Regions from separate parts of the Homo sapiens genome. Here region 2 is linked to region 1. Evidence: promoter capture Hi-C in human tissues and cell types (Jung and others, 2019). All regions are on one chromosome and are shown on one strand. The core of a region is centred on a gene start or on the middle of the fragment in contact, and the rest is flanking DNA. Distances in the headings are between cores, read along the strand shown. Region 1 holds the start of AMZ1 (archaelysin family metallopeptidase 1). Region 2 holds the start of LOC124901576 (a long non-coding RNA gene).

Evidence for each region. Contacts are between HindIII fragments. The study calls those that stand out against the background at their distance.
Region 2: a fragment that was not itself captured here is called in contact with the fragment with the promoter of AMZ1 in region 1 in 1 of the 25 tissues and cell types used here (dorsolateral prefrontal cortex).

The regions. Positions count from the first base shown.
Region 1 is chr7:2,683,456-2,689,899 of GRCh38, forward strand. It overlaps AMZ1 (archaelysin family metallopeptidase 1), which reads left to right and starts at 4,747. Exons shown (of 7, transcript NM_001384743.1): 1 at 4,747-4,841. RefSeq lists an enhancer at 5,446-5,715. The HindIII fragment of the contact is 48,320 bases long and covers 1-6,444 here.
Region 2 is chr7:3,951,149-3,957,592 of GRCh38, forward strand. It overlaps SDK1 (sidekick cell adhesion molecule 1), which reads left to right. Exons shown (of 45, transcript NM_152744.4): 7 at 582-772. It overlaps LOC124901576 (a long non-coding RNA gene), which reads left to right and starts at 787. Exons shown (of 2, transcript XR_007060195.1): 1 at 787-890. The HindIII fragment of the contact is 3,750 bases long and covers 1-3,293 here.

The sequences.
Region 1 (6,444 bases), core at 3,497-5,996:
GAGACAGAGTCTGGCTCTGTCACCCAGGCTGGAGTGCAGTGGCACGATCTCGGCTCACTGCAAGCTCCGCCTCCCAGGTTCACACCATTCTCCTGCCTCAGACTCCCGAGTAGCTGGGACTACAGGTGCCTGCCACCACGCCTGGCTAATTTTTTTATATTTTTAATAGAGACGGGGTTTCACCGTGTTAGCCAGGATGGTCTCGATCTCCTGACCTCGTGATCCGCCTGCCTTGGCCTCCCAAAGTGCTGGGATTAGAGACGCGAGCCACCGCGCCCAGCTCTGTCTGTTTTTTACAATATTTTGTAGAGATGCTGCCCAGGCTGGTCTCCAACTCCTGGGCTCAAGTGATCCTCCCACCTCGGCTTCCCAAAGTGTTGGAGATTACAGGCGTGAGCCACCTCACCCAGCCTCTTTCTCTCTCTTTTTAAAAAATTGTTGGCTGGGTGTAGTGGCTCATGCCTATAATCCCAGCACTTTGGGAGGCCGAGGCGGGTGGATCACTTGAGGTCAGGAGTTTAAGACCAGCCTGGCCAACACAGTGAAACCCCATCTCTACTAAAAATACAAAAATTAGCTGGGCTTGGTGGCACGCGCCTATAATCCCAGCTACTCAGGAGGCTGAAGCAGGAGAATCGCTTGAACCTGGGAGGCAGAGGTTGCAGTGAGCCAAGATCACGCCACTGCACTCCAGCCCGGGTGACAGAGCGAGACTCCATCTCAAAAAAAAAAATTGTCATTATTTTTTACATTGTCTTGTTCCTCCAATGAGGAACCTCTTTCTGTCTCTTACAAAGTCACTTGCATTGGATTTAGGGCCCACCCTGACTCTGACCCAGGATGACCTCATCTTGAGATCCTTACTTTAACCATATCTGCAACGACTCGGTTTCCAAATAAGGTCCCATTCTGATGGTGCAAGTAGGCACATTTTTGGGAGCCGCTATGTAACCCACCCTGGGGAAACTGAGGCAGGGCAAGGTGAAGCAGCTTCCCCAGGCCACACAGTTCTCTTTTAACCCCAAGTCGGCCTGGGTCAGAGGATGGTGATGGGGTCAAAGTTGGGGGCGGCCCCCTTTGTTCATCACTGAAAGGACAGGGGTCCCCATATCACGGCCTCTTTCTAGAATAGACTCTGACGAGGTAGCTTCAACCAGAAAGGGGTGTGCAGTCTGCCGGTGGGAGACCAGCGTGTCCCGGGTGCAGTGTGGACAGGGCGTTGGCTGAGTGAAGCCTTGGCTGGCAGGGGCCAGGTCATCAGCAGGCTGCCTCTGTGTTTCGGGGGTCCTGGCACTGGGCATGGCGCCACCCAACTTGGGGCACCCAGGAGGGGCCCTACTCATCTGGGCTTCCAGTCTCCCGGGCTGACCCAACAGACAGAGGAGGAACTGCCACTCTGGGCTTGACACATAATTGCTTTTTTTTTTTTTTTTTTTGAGACGGAGTCTCTGTCGCCCAGGCTGGAGTGCAGTGGCGCGATCTCAGCTCACTGCAAGCTCCGCCTCCCAGGTTCACGCCATTCTCCTGCCTCAGCCTCCTGAGTAGCTGGGACTACAGGCGCCCGCCACCACGCCCGGCTAATTTTTTGTATCTTTAGTAAAGATGGAGTTTCACTGTGTTAGCCAGGATGGTCTTGATCTTCTGACCTCGTGATCCGCCCGCCTCGGCCTCCCAAAGTGCTGGGATTACAGGTTGAGCCGCCGCGCCCGGCCTCGATGCATAATTTCCTTTCCGGTGGCTATTCAGGGAGGGGCGTGGGGGTTGGGGGGAGGATATTCCACAACTTCTTTGTAATAAGCAGCTTTAGGACAGAACATTCAGGCCAGGCTCGGTGGCTCACGCCTGTAATCCCAGCAATTTGGGAGGCCAAGGCGGGTGGATCACTTGAAGTCAGGAGTTCGAGACCAGCCTGGCCAACAGGGTGAAGCCCTGTCCTTCCTAAAAATACAAAAATTAGCCGGGCGAGGTGACGGGCACCTGTAATCGCAGCTACTTGGGTGGCTGAGGCAGGAGAATCGCTTGAACCCAGGAAGTGGAGTTTGCAGTGAGCCGAGATCGCGCCACTTGTACTCCAGCTCTGGGCAACAGAGTGAGACTCCGTCTCAAAAAAAAAAAAAGGCCGGGTGCGGTGGCTCATGCCTGTAATCCCAGCACTTTGGGAGGCCGTGGCAGGCGGATCACGAGGTCAGGAGATCGAGACCATCCTGGCCAACATGGTGAAACCCCATCTCTACTAAAAACACAAAAATTAGCTAGGCATGATGGCAGGCGCCTGTAGTCCCAGCTACTTAGGAGGCTGAGGCAGGAGAATGGTGTGAACCCGGGAGGTGGAGCTTGCAGTGAGCCGAGATCACGCCACTGCACTCCAGCCTGAGTGACAGAGCGAGACTCCGTCTCAAGAAAAAAAAAAAAAAAAAAAAAAGAACATTCATCTTTTCTCAGGTTCTGGGTTCTCCATCCCCAACAGAAATAACCTGGAAAATCCCTGCGGCAACACGTGTGAAGAAGTGCAGCTTTCTGAGTCACAATCTATTTGTAGGAATTTATCCCAAGGTGAGGGGGACCAGATACCTGTACAAAGATCTGTGGAAACAAGATCGTCTATCACAGTGATATATGCTAGTGAGACACCAGGAGAAACCAAAATATCCCAAAGCAGGTGACAGATCCATGACACGGAGTCCAGCGCAGACCATCAGGGTGTGGAGACGGACTTTTGGCTATTGATGAGTGTGAAGTCACGGGCCGCCTGCAGAACGCAGTATGTGACGTGAATCCCTTAAAATATGTATTTAGGCTGGGCACGGTGGCTCATACCTGTGATCTCAACATTTTGGGAGGCCGAGCTGGGAGGGTTGTTTGAGCCCAGGAGTTTGAGACCAGCTTGAGCAACATAGCGAGATCCCATCTCTACATAAAAGTTTCAAAATTAGCCAGGTGTGATGGCACGTACCTGTAGTCTCAGCTACTCAGGAGGCTGAGGGAGGAGGATTGCTGGAGTCTAGGAGGTCGAGGCTACAGTGACTCGCGTTTATACCAGTGCATTCTAGCTTGGGCAATAGAGCAAGATCCTGTCTCAAAAAAAACTTTTTAAAAATACATTTCAATGTGGAGGAGAAGGCGATCAGAAGGATGTCTGACAAGAAGGTGAGAGAGGTTACCTCTACACAGTTGGCTTATGGGGTCTTCTTTTTGTTTTTATTTTTCATAATTTTCCAAATTTTGCACACCGGACACCTAGTGTTGTGTTGTTTTTCTCTCTCTCTCTTTTTTTTTTGAAACAAAGTCTTGCTTTGTCACCCAGGCTGGAGTGCAGTGGCATAATCTCGGCTCACTGCAACCTCCGCCTCCCGGGTTCAAGTGATTCTCCTGCTTCAGCCTCCCGAGTAGCTGGGACTATAGGCACCAGCCACCACGCCCAGCTAATTTTTTTATTTTTAATAGAGACGGGGTTTGACCATACTGGCCAGGCCGGTCTTGAACTCCTGACCTTGTGATCTGTCTGCCTCAGCCTCCCAAAGTGCTGGGATTACAGGCATGAGCCACCACGCCCAGCCGTGTTATTTCTTAAGGCTTAAAAAAATTCTTTGAGGCTGGGTGTGGTGGCTCACGCCTGTACTCCCAGCACTTTGAGAGGCTGAGGCGGGTGTATCATGAGGTCAAGAGTTTGATACCAGCCTGGCCAAGAAGGTGAAACCCCATCTCTATTAAAAATACAAAAATTAGCTGGACACAATGATGGGTACCTATAATCCCCACTACTCAGGCGGCTGAGGCAGAAGAATGACTTGAACCCCGGAGGTGGAGGTTGCAGTGAGCCCAGATTGCACCATTACACTCCAGCCTGGGCGACAGAGCGAGACTCCATCTAAAAAAAAAAAAAAATTCTTTGCACTGGTGTGGGACGATGGTGACGAATCCCTCAGCCATCTGTGGGGCGCTGCTGAGGGCGTGGGGGGCATTTCTGCACGGTGAAGCAGAGCTGGTGGGAGGCTGCCCGAGGGAAGCTGGTGCTGGGAGGGTTTGCAGAGAGGAAAAGGGCAGTTTATGGAAAAGGCCTCTGGGCTCTGTCTGGAGCCGTCATGCCGGCCTTCACGGCATCCTTCCGCACTTAGAGTCCTTTCCATCTCCTGGTGGCTGGCACAGGGCCAGGGCTGCACTCACAGCTGGCCAGGGTAGGGCAGGGCGCCCGTCCTCAGGGCCACTGACTGTAGGGCTAACCTAGGGGCCTGGTTCACCCCTCTCACCTGGGGCTTCGCTGATAAGCCTGGTTCACCTCCTCACCTGGTGGCCTCGTTCACCCCCTCACCTGGCGCCTTGCCTGATAGCCTGGTTCACCCCTCTCACCTGGGGCCTCTCCTGGTGGCCTGGTTCCCCTTCCTCACCTCGTGGCGCTGGTTCACCCCTCTCACCTGGGGCCTTAACTGGTGGCCTGGTTCACCTCTTCACCTGGCGCCTTGCAGAGTAGCCGGGTTTACTCCTCTCACCTGGGGAGGCACGAACTGGCCCGGGCTGACTGACCTCCCTCACCTGTTTGGCTTTAGGCTCTGGGGCCCCCCTGCCCGGGTGTTTCTGGGAGGCTGGAGGGTCCCACGTGAGCTCCACCGCGGGCAGCTGGAGGGAGTGGGGCAGGACGCTGAGCGCCGGGAGGGGTGTGGCCCTCCTGTCCTGCCCGCGGCCCCACACCGGCCCCAGTCCCGCCCGCCTCGGTCCCTGCCCCGCGCGCCGACGTCACCGGGACCTCCCGATCCTCCCGGCCCAGGCCGAGCTGCCCACGCTGCTGCCCGGGGCTCGGTGCCCGGCGCGGCCTCTGCCGGCTCCGGCGGGCGCGGGACTGCGAGGTAGGGGGGCGCGCGGGGAAGACTCGGGGGCGCAGGGACCGAGAGGGACCTCCGTGCCGGGGCGGGTGGGTAGGGGCAGCTCCGGGTCCAGCCCGGCCCGCGCACCAAGTCCCGAGGGCGCCCGGGCGGCGGCGGCTACGGGCGCGCGGGGACCGCGGAGACGCGAAGGGCGCACTTGGCGAGGGTTTGGTGCAGCGCCGCGCCGGGGTCCGCACAGCCCCGGCAGGTCCTGCAGAGGGAAGGCCGGGCCAGGGAAGGGCCACGCGCCCCCTCCCCGCCATCCTCTCCCAGGCCAGGGCGACCTGCGCGCTTCCCGATGGGAGCAAACTGGGGACGGGTCGGGAATCCAGGGCCAAGCGCCCGAAAGAAGGCGTTTCCGGGCTGGGGCGAGCCAGGTGGGTGCGGGACGTCCCCGGGGAACCTCCAGGGCGCCGAGAATCTCGTCGTGCCCAGGGCTCCCCGCAGCCTGTGTATGAGCCGGGGAGGGAGAAGGCTTCCTCCCCCAGGAGACTGAGGGAGAAGGCTGTGGATATGATCCCTGCAGGGATGTAAGACAGGTCTCAAAACCAGAAAAGCAAGGGAGGGGTGACAGAGAAATGGCAAACTTTACAAAGGACAGGGGAGGGCAGGGACCTGGGTCCTTTCTGCCCCCATCACGGGAGGGAAACACTTGGCAGAGGAGTTTGGGGTTCGCAGGTGAGGAGAGAGAACAGGAAGCCAAGAGTCTGGCCCGGAGGCCACTACCCCTGCGGTCTAAGCCCCCGGTTTTCCCTCCTAGCGAATGGAAACTGAGAGGTGAGAAACCCCCAAAACCATCCGTCCGTCTGGTTCTGCCTGAAGGTCTCCGCTGTCAGCTAATGAATAGCTCGATGCAGCTGCTGGGAGGTTTTGCAAAGCGCATTCAGAATAGCGAGAATCAGAGCATGGTTTCTTGCCCAAAGGCCAGGCATCTGCGTGGTCAGATGGGGGAGCATGAGTGCCCGGAGCTGTGCGGTTTAGGGCAGCCTGACCTTGGATACCTGGTTACTGGGCCAGTCTGGCGGCCCTTGTTGCTTAGAGCGGCAGAACCTCCCTGGGGGGGGGATGCGGACGTGCTCTTTTCCAGTCTTTGGACAAAAAAAGGCAAGGGGAGGAGGAAGGAGAAGCGTCTGAGTTTACCCATGGTATTAATAGCAGCAGGGCTGGAACTCGGGTGCTCTGGGAGAGGAGACGTCCTACCCCCTGTCCCCGTCAGAACATCCCTGCTCCAGGAGCAGCTGGGGTTCCAGTGTGAAGCGTGGCTTTGAAACCAGGCCCCGCTGGCCCCCAGCTGTGTCGCCAGGGCCAAGTCACTTAACGTCTGAGCCTCAGTTTCCCCACCTGAAACACCGCAGTGGCACCTGCGGCTCCGTGTGTGGCTTGGAGGACGCAGGCATGAGACCTGTTGGCTGCTGTCATGACTGCAGTTAGCAGAGGAGGGGGACACACTGTGACAGGGTCCAAAGGACAGCGAGAAACCTCCATCTGGGGGTCTCCTTTTTGGAGCATGGATGGGTTGGTGAGTGCCAGAGGGTGCTGCGAAGCTGACCCCCACTAAGGCGGCTCCCTCCCCGTGGGTACCCCC
Region 2 (6,444 bases), core at 169-2,668, 1.3 Mb after region 1:
GTTTGGCCGGGTGGGCCATGAATACGAGATATGGGTAGATAAGGAAATGGACACACTGATGTCTTCCAGAGTCCCCCACTGCAACAGGGCGGTGCTTTCAATGCAGCTCTGGGTGGTAGTGGGGGGCTCCTCTGAGATCCTCTCTAGGGAAGAGAGAGGAGTTGAGGCAGAGGAAAAAGTTCATTGCTCTTCTCCTCTTAGTCAGCCAAGGTGTTCTCTGCCTACTTAGCGGTCGCTCCAGAATCAAGCTCGGATGATCCCGCCTTCCATGTCGTTGTGTCCCCTCACAGTATTTATTTTAAACATTCATTTCCTGAGCAAATGGGATCATTAGCACTTATGGTCCATTGCTGCGGCAATTAGATATCCTTGCTTAATAGCCCTTGAGCAGAATGCATCGTCAATGCGTGCTGGGAGGGAGTAGAGTTACATCTAGATTGAGTTTTCAGTGTCCGTTGTTCAACCCACCATGCACCCTGGTAGCATTAGCTTCGTCAAGCCTGTGCCGAGTGCCTGAGATGATGACCGTTGCCACCTCCCTGAGTCACAATCGTCGTCATGAATGCCTTTCATTCCCACAGGCCTGTGGAGGACCTGAGTGTGACCTGGAAGAGGAATGGAGTGAGAATCACCAGTGGCCTCCACAGCTTTGGAAGACGCCTCACCATCAGCAACCCGACGTCCGCGGACACCGGGCCATACGTCTGCGAGGCGGCGCTGCCGGGGAGCGCTTTTGAACCGGCCAGGGCGACGGCCTTTCTTTTCATCATAGGTAATGCGGGAGCCTCTAAGTGGTGTTGCCAGCATCTCAGATAGCATCCGACACTGACTCTTCTGCAGAAACAAAATAGCGTATTTCAGTGGCTTTATTTGTAACTCGGCAAATGAAGGTGAGGTTGAGTTTACCTTCGAAATCCTTCCTAGCCTTCTTTCCCAAGAATATAAGTCCATTAAATCCAAAGTGTTGATGTTCTCAATCCTTCCAAGAAACGTCCTTCTGAATACTCCAGTCACAAAGCTCGGGAAATAGAGCGGTGAAACCCCTGTCATATAGATCCCTCTCCTATTCTAGCTTTAGGCTGCTAAGCTTTTCTGTAACTCTTATTTGGCTATCGTGATCGGTGTTCAGAAACTATTCTATTATTGCTGTCCAGGCATGGTGGCTTATGCCTGTAATCCCAGCACTTTGGGAGGCCAAGGTGGGCGGATCACTTGAGGCCAGGAGTTCGAGACCAGCCTGGCCAACATGGTGAAATCCCGCCCGTCTCTACTAAAAATACAAACATCAGCTGGGCGCAGTGGCGGGCGCCTATGATCCCAGCCACTCGGGAGGCGGAGGCACGAGAATCACTTGAACCCAGGAGGCAGAGGTTGCAGTGAGCCAAGATCGCATCATTGCAACCCAATCTGGGCCACAGGAGCAAAACTCCAACTCAAAAAAAAAATTATTAATTTAGAAATTATTCTATTAATTATTAATTTAGCTGTTATTTTTTGACCTAGCAGAAAATGTAAAACTATCGGATGTTACCTTTTGTTAAACTTAAAAAAAAAAAGAGAACAGAGATGCTTCCTCAAACTGGGCGACATATTATTCCTGAACCAAGGAGAAAGAACATAAAATTAAGTACACTGGAGTTGCCCAGCTCTAAATGCTGGAAACTATTAGTGTTTAGGGAGTGTGCATTGTACAGTGGCTAAGAAAATACAAAACCTATTATCAGTTTATGAGGAGGTTAAGTTGTGAGGCAAGTGACTTTATTTCTCTCATTTTTCCAGCTACTGTCATGCATTTATTCTTCATAAGTGGCCGTGATGACTATGAGAGCAGCCTGTGTTCCGCAGTGGTAGCCGCTGTTGATAAGAGGTAGCCTTAGAGGCCGCCTCTAGGAAGGAGAATCTCGACTTCCTCTCTCCTCTTTGGGAAAAAGGGGAATTGAGAACAGGAAAATTCAAATAAGAAAACCCTCAGAGAGCCCCTTAAATAAAAAAATTTGCAGTCTGCCACTTTGCAAAATAAGGAAAAAAAAAAAAAAGCTTGTGTTTTCCTATGAAACTAGCAAGAAAAGGAATACTGCACAAAAGGTGGTTTACCTTGATCACGTCCCATTCCTTTAATCATTAGGAAATGACTCCATGTCCTGACCTTGACTCTTCTAAATACAATGCAGTGCAAACCTGTCGGTCCCTCTGAAAGAAGCGAAAGTCTGTTAAAAGCATCCAAGGAAGCCGGCTTTGAGTCACCAATCACTGTTGATTCTACATGAGAGGCCTGAGCTGGTATTGCTACCTTCCCCATCCATGCTTCCGCTACAGATGTAAATATCACATCCCATTCTCTGCAAAGATTTTTTCATCGAGGTTGATCTGTAGTTCTAGGAGCACAGCACATTATAGATTCAGCCAAAATTAAAATTTGCGACGTGTAAATCTCTAGTAGACAGGACTATACCGTGTTCAAACATTTTAAGGTAATTTAAACAAGAGAAGAAATTTATCTCCCTTTAAACGAGAATGTTTGTTTCGATCATCATTCCTTTTTAAAATATTTAAATCTATCTTAAGAGCTTTAGTTTTACATTTATATCTGATTAGTTTTGTGTTCTCTCGAGTTAGCACCTCTCCGTGTTCTGACTTTTAAAGGTACACAAACACACTTCACTTCTTTATGATGTTGAGTTAAATCCCCTTTTATTCATAAGAATTTGCTGTAGCAGGTAGGATTTTTGTGGTTGGCGCACACTGCAAAAACCCTGAAGAGAGTGTCTGTGTCAATTCCGAGGGATTTGGATGAGATTATAATCCCACGCCCTGTGGCCGAGCATTATTGGTTTCACAGGGCTGTCACCATGTACCTGTCAAAAGGGCCACCCGTAGGAGCACACAGGCCAAAGACAGAGAAACAAATGGGCTCCTATTACTTGTATTTTATACTGATGACACAGGACAGGCTAGTTGGGCTGTTTGCCCACCTGCCTGTCTATGTTGCTTAATTTCTGTGGCTTGAATGAGAGCACAGAGGTCGGCTTCCAGGCACCACCCCGCCACTGGCTGCCCAGTCCTGTGGAGCAGCCCCTCTACGCCCTCCACCCTCCCCTCCTGCCTCCCCTCTACACCCTCCTCTCCCGCATCACCTCTACACTCTACAGCCTCCCCTCCTGCCTCCCCTCTACACCCTCCCCTCCCCTCCTGCCTCCCCTCTACACCCTCCCCTCCCCTCCTGCCTCCCCTCTACACCCTCCCCTCCTGCCTCCCCTCTACACCCTCCACCCTCCCCTCCTGCCTCCCCTCTACACCCTCCCCTCCCCTCCTGCCTCCCCTCTACGCCCTCCACCCTCCCCCCTCCCCTCCTGCTTCTCCTCTACACCCTCCTCTCCCCTCCCACCTCCCCTTTACAACCTCCCCTCAACACCCTCCCTTCCCGCCTCCCCTCTATACTCTCCGCCCTCCGTTCCCACCTCCCCTCTACACCTTCCCCTCTGGCCTCCCCTCTACACCCTCCGCTTCCGTCCCACCTCCCTTCTACACCCTCTACACTGCACCATTCATGGGCTTGAATGAGTGTTGGCCTCAGTTTCCACATCCATAAAATGGAGATGGATGTAGATGGTACCAGCTCATATTGTGAAGGTTAAATGCAAAAATGTCTGTCACAGAGGCTCTGAAATAGTGGCTTTAGTTGCTGTTGGCATAACTCTATTATCCTATATGTCCCATTGCACTCGCTATTTACCAATAATCAGTTATGTGACACACATTTTTCATGTTTAGTGTCTCTGGAATCAGGATGTGCCTCACCACCTATGAAACCATTTTTTTTTTCCTTGGGGTAAGACAAGGATGCCCCTTACCTCTGACTGCAGCACCTTAGTGCCTGTGAGATGCATCTTCCCTCCGAGCCACGCCTTCTCCACGGTCTCCTCATCACACACGAAGCCAGCTGCTCCCACATGTGCCCTGCTCCTGCTGAGCACGATGGCTCGGAAACTCGGACGGCGAGTTTTCACTGGGATGGACTCTTTACCTGGTGGGGCATCTGCTGCCAGCCCCTTCAAGTTGTTCATGGAATTCAGTGCTTGTGGCTTGGGGGCTGGCTCCTGGCCAGGGGTCCCCTCAGGTTCCAGAGTCCCCTGCATCCCTGGCTCATCTCCAGAGCCAGCAGCTGCGGCTGAGTTCTTGTCACACATGGAAGCTCTCTGCTGTCCCCTGTGCCTCCAGCTGCAGAAAGTCCTCTCCTTTTAGGGGCTCACATGATTAAATTGGGCCCACCCAGCGAATCCAAGAGAGTCTCCCTATTTTAAGGTGGGATACCTAATCCCACCTGCAGAGTCCCTCTTGCCAAGTGAGACAGCATATTCATAGATTCCAGAGGTGTGGGTGTGGACACCTCCGGGAGCCGTTCTGTCCACCTCGGTGGACTAGCGTGCAGTGCAGGCCAGCCGAGGGCATGCGTGGGACATGCTGCTCCCTGAGAGGGGCGACCTGGAAGGAACAGGGAGGCAGCGCAGGAAACATCTTTGGATCTTGCAGTGATCCCTACACAGAAGAAGCTTTGCAACTCAGAAGCCAAATCCCAGCAGCATTGGGGATGGGAGAGCAGGAAAAATGCATGGTGTTGTTGGGGGGTCCTTCTCCACTGCGGTTGCCTCCATTGGGCCTGAGCCTGCACTTTGTCACACTGGCATTTTGGAGAGTGAGGTCATTTGACAGAGGCCCTTGGTTTGGGGGCAGTCTGGGAGGTCTCCCCACCTCCTCTCCTGAGACTGGGGAGCTAGAAGCTTGCGCTGCCCCTGGAGGCAGCTGCCATGGGCTCTGGGCCATGTGGAAGGCGGAAAATCTGAGCTGGCCTTTTCCTAACACCCTGACTTCACACAGGGCATGAGAACCTTTCCCTGATGTCTTCATATTGTTTCAAAAGAGGGAGAAGTGTTTGTTTCCATCCCCTGTTTTGTTGGCTGCAGTCAGGATCAATTTTCAGAAGTCCAGGGTGGACCCATGTTGGCAGAGTACCCTTTCTAGACACAGTTGCCACTGACAGGCTAAGACATGCCCTCGCCCTCTTGCCCTCTGAAGAGTAAGTGGTTGAGAGTCTATGCACAGGATGACTCATTTACAATGGGTTTTCCCCAGTGTTTAACTCACGGGCTTTTCACGGTCCATAGGCTTGGCATTTCCTCCGGTTCTTTGCCTTAGAGCAGACTGTGTGTAAAACCGTAGCTGGAAATGGGGAGAAACTCCATCTGAGCAGCCGCTGGGTTAGAATACTAGGAAGGGTTGGCAGGGAGAGAACTCGTACCCTCACACGGTGGGGAAGTACTAAGGGAAGCTCAGAGGCCACGCAGGGCATGGGCAGCTCTGCACCTGCTCCCCAGGCACAGCGACCTGGAAGGCTTTCCAGAACAAGCTAAGAGCATCCACAATGAACAGCCAGATGTTTTCCACCCATGCCTAGCACTGAGCTACTAAAACTGCCCAGGACATTGGCCCCTGCAGGCGGTGGCAGGCTGCCCCCCAGACCTTGCCCATGCCACAGTACTATGGAGAGTGTGGAGTGGGATGAGTTTTCTCACCAGGTGGCATGCTGTGTGCCAAACACAGATGGTCCCTGGCTAGGGTGGAGAGAGGTCACCACTTGGAGAGGAGCAGCATCGTCTGGGCCTGGAGGTCCCCAGAGCCATGCACTTGCTCAGCCAAGCCAGCTTCGGGTCACTGTGTGGAGTGCCCGTCTCCCTGACCCCAGCGAGGTCCCTTCCTGGCACTCGAGGGAAGCCTCGGGGGACTGTACCAGGCGACAACGGTAATCAGTACCTCAGGGAAGGCACCCTGGGCCCGTAGGTGCCGACCATTGTTATCTATGGATTTTGTATCATCAAAGCACAGGTCATCTTGGGTGAATCTCAAGGGAACCATGAAGAGTGAAAAAAATAGTTGCAAAAGTTACACTCGATGACCTCCTTTCTGTAACGTTCTTGAAATGACAAACCTACAGAAACAGAGAACGGATTAGTGGTTGTGAGGGGTGGGGGTTTGGGGTGCTCCTGGTCATGGAAGGCAACACCCTTGTGCTGATGGACACGTGGACCTACACACGTAATAATGTTGCATGGGACGTGCATGTGCCGTCTTTTCACGCACACTTGAGCGCAGGAAACACTGGCAAGAGCTGGATAAATTAGGTTGATTGTATCAGTAGCAGTATCCTGATCATGATGTTATGCTATCGTTTTTTGCAAGATGTTACCATTGCGGGAAGCCGAGTGAAGGGTCCATGAGCTCTTTCAGTGTTACAGTGTTACTTCTCACAACTGCACGGACTCGACAGTTTTCTAAAAAGAAAACGCTCAACTAAGAAGAGGAAAACTATAATTAATCATAAGCAAATGTTGTTGTCGAATGTATGTTTTTTTCCTTTTTCCTTCCATGCTTTTAATCAGATCATGACGG